Regions from separate parts of the Homo sapiens genome. Here region 1 is linked to region 2. Evidence: promoter capture Hi-C in human tissues and cell types (Jung and others, 2019). All regions are on one chromosome and are shown on one strand. Each heading gives the region's core, a stretch centred on a gene start or on the middle of the fragment in contact. The rest is flanking DNA. Distances are from core to core; before and after follow the strand shown. Region 1 overlaps RGS7 (regulator of G protein signaling 7). Region 2 holds the start of RGS7 (regulator of G protein signaling 7).

The links. The method cuts DNA at HindIII sites, captures the fragments that hold promoters and counts their contacts. A contact is called where the count stands out against the background at its distance.
Region 1: a contact is called between a fragment that was not itself captured here and the fragment with the promoter of RGS7 in region 2, in 1 of the 25 tissues and cell types used here (small bowel).

The regions. Positions count from the first base shown.
Region 1 is chr1:240,942,338-240,945,404 of GRCh38, reverse strand. The region is part of intron 4 of RGS7 (regulator of G protein signaling 7); the gene reads left to right. Among named protein-coding and RNA genes, the nearest start is that of MIR3123, 190 kb to the left of the region's middle. The HindIII fragment of the contact is 5,456 bases long and covers 1-3,067 here.
Region 2 is chr1:241,355,736-241,358,974 of GRCh38, reverse strand. It overlaps RGS7 (regulator of G protein signaling 7), which reads left to right and starts at 1,770. Exons shown (of 19, transcript NM_001364886.1): 1 at 1,770-2,076; 2 at 3,149-3,239. The coding sequence starts at 3,199. It overlaps LOC124904601 (a long non-coding RNA gene), which reads right to left and starts at 1,723. Exons shown (of 2, transcript XR_007067052.1): 1 at 1,493-1,723; 2 at 1-1,152. RefSeq lists a silencer at 1,869-1,918. The HindIII fragment of the contact is 13,432 bases long and covers 1-3,239 here.

The DNA of each region.
Region 1 (3,067 bases), core at 279-2,778, 410 kb after region 2:
TGTGTAAATAGAACACACTCATAAAACCAGTTCCTATTTGGAATAAGCATTCATTTGCTCTGTGTACAAAAACTCTATACTATAGCAGCCCTTGAGAATCATCAGGATTGAGTTATAAGCAACTGAAATTAAAATCAGCTTTTATATTTCGTATTGGGCTATTTTTCTCTTTCGTGTTAGAGTATTGGGACATGGGCAATGGCAAGAATGTCTGAGAAATAAAGAAAAATCCATTTCCCTTTGACACAAGGAGGCAAAAATAAGGATGGCGGCTGCTCTGCCACAACTTCTAGCTAGTGTTTTGACTGCACATCTTGTCATGGACTCAGAACTAAAAAGTCTTTAGTGATCCCCGCTGCATTTACAGATGCCAGCTCTAAGAAAGGAAGTGACTTGGCTGGATGCGTGGCACACGCCTGTAATCCCAATGCTTGGGAAGGCCGAGGCAGGCAGATCACGAGGTCAAGAGATAGAGACCATCCTGCCCAACATGGTGAAACCCTGTCTCTACTAAAATACAAAAATTAGCCGGGCGTGGTGGCGCATGCCTGTAGTCCCAGCTACTTGAGAGGCGGAGGCAGGAGAATCGCTTGAACCTGGAAGGCGGAGGTTGCAGTGAGCGAAGATCGCGCCACTGCACTCCAGACTGGTGACAAAGTGAGACTCCATCTCAAAACAAAAGAAAGGAAGTGACTTACTCCTGACATGCAGTTACAGGCACTAGGATTAGAATTTAAGCCCCATGACTTGCAGTTGAGCCTTTTTTTCCCATGATTTCCACATGTGCTTGTTTGGCAGTGTGTGCTCTCTCTGATTTGAAGAAATACATGCTGTAGAAACTCCTCTGCCTACTAAAAAGTTAATTCAGTGCCCTACTTTCTTCCAGCTCATTCAGCCAGATTAACTAATGGAAATTTTGCAGAATGTATACTGAATTTTAGATGGAATGTTGTTTTCCACTGTAATTTATTACTGCCCTGGCCCTTGCCATTGTGATGGTTTCCTCACACTGTACTTAGATGAAGTAAGCATGATTTTTATCTCATCTGAATACTATTCTATGCACCTAACATATATATATATATATATATATATATATATATATATATATATATATATATACACACACACACACACACACACATATAATATAACAGAATCTTGTTAAAGGATTGGCTGATGGAACTACCTATCTAAATCTGGGGAATGAACATGCTAATATCATATAGGCTGTATAATGTAGATCTGAAACCAGTTATTCACACCAGTATTACATGGATCATTTTTTCAAATTTCAGCATGATTTTTCATCTATGCAGAATGCCTAAGATGTCATAACTGCCATTAGACATCTAGACTGGTCTACTCTGTGTGTGTAAAAAAGATCGTTGACTTATGATTATCTGTTGCTCTCACTGCCAATTGCTTTATTATTTTAATGTCGATTTTCTTTTTTTAGTCCTAGGCAAATATTATGCTTCCCTAAGAATTCATCTCCCATTCTGATTGCTGTCCCCGTGCTCTCTCTGTCCCTGTTATTCTTCTACTGTCAGGTTCAGGGTGTCCTCACATCAGTCCTCCTCTAAAGCAGGCAGGTCTCTCATTGGCATCTGGTATTCACAGTATGGTTTTGTAAACCTAGCGTGTGGAGCATGCCGCCTTTGGAAATCTGTGGCTATCCCTGTGATATATAATAAGTTTGTCCCTAATTTCTTTTTGGGATTTTGTTAGTGTTCTTTGCTGTAGGGAAAAACATAGGCATATTTCAGCCCACAAAACACTCTGGTTTGATCACCTGGGGCGTTTAAAATAGAGTTGAATTGGAAGTGTTTAACATGACTGGGAAACCCAGAGCAACACTAGCTACTAATGTTTCCCATCGCCCCTTAAACTAGATTAAGTGCTCCTGAATGTGACACTTCATAAGTATCAACTGATAATAACTCTCATCTCAGGAGCATGTCTGTGTGGTAGACTGTGTTTTAAGTGCATTGTGCATATTATCTCAATGGATCCTTACTGCTAATCTTTGGCATTATTATTTTGTCAACTTCTTACAGATGATTACAGATGAGGGCACCAAGGCCCAGAGAATCCAAGTCTCTTGCTCAGGTCACACAGCCAGCAAATGAGGGACCCGGGATGTGAACCTAGGCAGGGGACTGGCATAGCCTTTGTACTCTGCTCCTTTTTTGGAAATAGCGTTTACTTATATTAATTTCTTATTGCATTCCTCAATGTTGATATAAATTATGATTCTGTTTTTATTTCTCCCAAATAGAATCTCTTTTAGCTTATCTATTCTATGTCACCTTATTATTCACTTCTCTATCCCGAATTATGATTGCTGTTGAGAAAGCGGCACTTGATTTTTCTTACATGCAAATGATGTTTTTTTTAAAAAGATGAAAGCTGAGGTACTTCTTTTACTAACTCCTACTGTTGAGAAAATAAACTTACTTCAGAAATTTCTAAATATGGTAATAGTCCATTTTTACTTGGTTTTGTTGGAGAATAAAATGTTCCGCATATGAGATTTTTCTACATGAATAATCTTACCTTTCCAAATGCCAGTTCTAAAAAATAAAGCATAATATTTTGAAGGATTTCTAAAATGACCACTTCCATGTCTTCTTAAACAGAAAGTAACAAGTCTAACATATCTTCTTTTTATGGCTCAGAATTGTCCTGATGAATACCTGTTATTTTATCATTAAGTAACTTACCTTTGTCTTCATTTTAGCATCTCTGTTTCCTTAATATAATCAGCTGCCATCTTTTTTCTTTTTAGATTTTCTTTTAAAATATTTCTCCCCACACACTACTGATACTTATACTGTGTTGGAAATGAAAAAAATGTTAATACATGCACATAAATAAGAGTAAATAACATGATAGTGATAAAAATACAGGATTCAGTGAAGTTTTTAAATTACTTTCTTGACTCAGAGGCATTTTATTAATCGTTGCAAAATTATGAGCTGTATTTAAAAGAAGAGGAGGCTGCAAGAAGTTGAGCCTCTGGGTAAGAAAAATATTACTGAGTTTTAAAATTACATTGTAAATA
Region 2 (3,239 bases), core at 521-3,020:
GTATAATTTATATATATAAATTAAATAGAGCCAATTATATATATGATAAATAGAGCTATATATATATATAGGCTCTCTATATATAGAGCTTGGGTACAGCTTCCTATGAGGATGGAAACTTTACCCAGAGATGCAAAGGAGGAGGAAGACTGCTTCCTTCAGGCGGTTCTCTCTTAAGAGGAAAATGGTCAAACTGAGTGAGCATACCCAGTTGTATTTGCAAATTTATTAATCCAAGTCATGCAAGTCACATCAACTTCTCAGGAGCAGACTGAACAAGAGGGAAGAGAGAGGGGTTAAAGGAGGGATAAGTAGATTTCAGCGAGAGCAAAAACGTTAAAGAAATATTTCGAGAAGTCGAAAACGAAGAGAATTTTGCTGAAGAAGATTCTAAGTTCCAGAGGCTACAGTGGAAAGATGTGGGGAGTTGGAGTGGGAGACAGGTCAGACTAGAGTGTGTGTAGTTTGGGACAATGATATTTCTCCTGTAGTACTTGGAACAGGGGCTAGGTTAGATAAATATTTGTTCCTTGAGAGAAACCTGACAAGACCTGCATGGGGCTGGGGTAATACATTGGTCCACATGGACCCCTGTTTGAGTAGAAGTGTTATCTCCAATAAGGTCTAGTCTGCTTAGACCAAGGGGTCAGGAAAGGCTGACCTTGATTATCTTCTCCTTCTGTCCCTCCCTCTCCTCCACACCTGGCCCAGTAGAGGAAGGAAAACTAGATTTACAGCTGATCTTGATTATCTTCTCCTTCTCTCCCTCCCTCTCCTCCACAGCTGGCCCAGGAGAGGAAGGAAAACTAGATTTACAGCGGCCCAGCCCTTCCCCCTGAAAGCCAGAGGCACAGGTTGCTTTACTACCACCGAGACAAAAGTGATCTGTCTCCTTTATGTCATTCTAATCCTTACAGAAGAATTTGTGGCAGCAGTACGAAGACTATAGCTAGGAGGATCAGCACCTCAGAAGCTCTTTGAAAATTGCTAGAGGATGAGGGCAGTGGGCAAGAGGAAAGTTCCTCTGAGCACCTTCTGTTAAAAGGAGAAGCCAGGCCTTGGGGATGTTCCTTCAGTTTCACAAGTGGCAAGATTTTCACCTCCGGTTGGCAGCTTTCAAATCGTTTCCCATTTCTCCAACTTAGGAAGAAGCTGTGAAAACCGCAGGCAAACGGGGATGAATGATTCATTTGGTCCTGGCCATTTCCTTCATTCCTAGGGTGTCTCAATATCTCTCTACTCTGTTATTTAAGCATAATAATAATAATAATAATAATAATAATAATAATAATAATAATAATAATAAATCATCTGCTTCCCTGGGACTTTCAGCGGAGTCGTTAGGCACGTGATGAAACCTTGGTTTGCACGGGGCTCCATCCATCCATTCATCCGTGCATCCGTCCGTCCATCTGTCCATCCATTCACTAGACCACCCACCCACCTACCACCCACCCACCCATCGCACAGCCTTCCTCCCTTTCCGGCTTACACTGGGCGTTAAACTCCGGTCTCTCCAGGCCTCCGGCGCACGTACACACGCGCGGGCGAGCGGGCGGGGTGTGCGGGAGCGCGGGCTGGCCGCGCCGGGGGCAGGACTACAGCCTCCCGAGGGGCGCGAGGGCGGGAGGCCGGGGAGGCCCGGGAGGCCCGGGCGGTGTGGCGGCGGCCGAGCCGAGCCCATCCGAGCCGGCACCTTCGGACGCCCCTGTCCCACGTGACTGTCCCCTCCTCCCTCCTCCCAGTCGCGCGCACGGGCCGGGCGTCTCGACTCCCGCGCGCGCTCGGCTGGTCCCAGTCCCCGGGAGAAGAAGCGGAGGAGGGAGAGAGCCAGCGAGGCGGCCCAGGGGAGCGGGCGCGAGTGGCGGCTGCCGGAGCCGCCTGTGCACGGGCGGCGGCGAGGCGAGGGTGGCGGTCGCCTGAGCAGCTAGAGCCGGGGCGGCGCGGAATCCGCATCCGCCGCGAGTGTGATGAAGCTACCCTGCCTCGCTGCTCCGCTTGCCGCCAGCTGACACCGCCTGCACCCAGCCCGCCCGGGAGGGGAGACGCCGCGGGGCCGTGACCTTGGCGGAGGAGGTAAATAGGGAAGGCGGGCGGGGAGGAGGCAGCGCCACCCAGAGCCCTCCCGGCCCCCGGCCCGCACCCAGCCCTCGCTCTGCGCAGCGGGAGCGTCCGCGGGCGCAGGGCGGCCGCCCCCGGGAGCCCCGCGCCGGGGCTGGGCTACGGGCGCCGCGCGCACCCCGCGGTCCACGGTGCTGAAACTGCTGCCCGGCTCCGGCGGCCGCCGCGGCGCGGGGCACAGGCTCGCCTGCCATTTGCTGCTGCCGTGAGAGCGAGCAAGGGGAGCAGGGGCTTGCCTGTTTTCTCCTCTTTGGCTGGTTGCTCTGGAGGCTTCTGCAGTTAGGCTTTTACCCACGGTGACCCGGGTAAAATGGCCTGAAGGCTTGACCTCCCACTAGTTCTTGTTGCCGGGACATATTCTGGTGTCTTCTTGCAAAAATTAGGCAGGATTACCTCCGGACTTCCGAAGCGAAGTGGGGAGAAAGGAGAGCAGCCGGTGGCTGGCAGCGCAGGCAGGTGAAAGTAGGCGAAGCATATACTCCGGCTCTGTGTGGGAGACCCGGGGGAATAGAGAGGAAGCCCGTGCGCTGGAGAATGACACCGGGAATGGGCCTCTCTGATGGGCTGCAGGTGGGGACACTAGACAGATACCTAGGAGAAAGTGTGCTAACCCGCCCCCCACTCCCCCACCGCATCCCCCAGGTGTTGCCTTTCCACCCTTTGGGGAAAACATCACCAAGTTCAGATGCAAGTATTGGGAGAGAAGAGAACTCTGTACTAGGAAAATGCTACCCACGAGTTTTTAGGGTGAGCATCAAACACTTCTCAAAATGAGTATCCAGAAAATGAAGTCAGCTAAAACAATAACCAAATGGCTATTTCTACCTGGAAGATTGTAATTTCTTACAATTCCTTGAGGTTATTGTAGGTGTCAACTCACTTTTTAAAAAATCCATGTCCTGTGTCACTTTCTCCAGCCAGCCCCAGTTTGTAAGAACGCGCCATGTGGGGTGGGTGCTGTGAATGATGATGATGAATCAGGGGAGTCCCACTGGGATCTCACTGAAGTCTCTCTGACCCTTTGCAGGGCACACTGATAATTCTTGTATCTTGAGAGTGGACCAAGTTTTGGGTGACATGGCCCAGGGGAATAATTATGGGCAGACCAGCAACGGGGT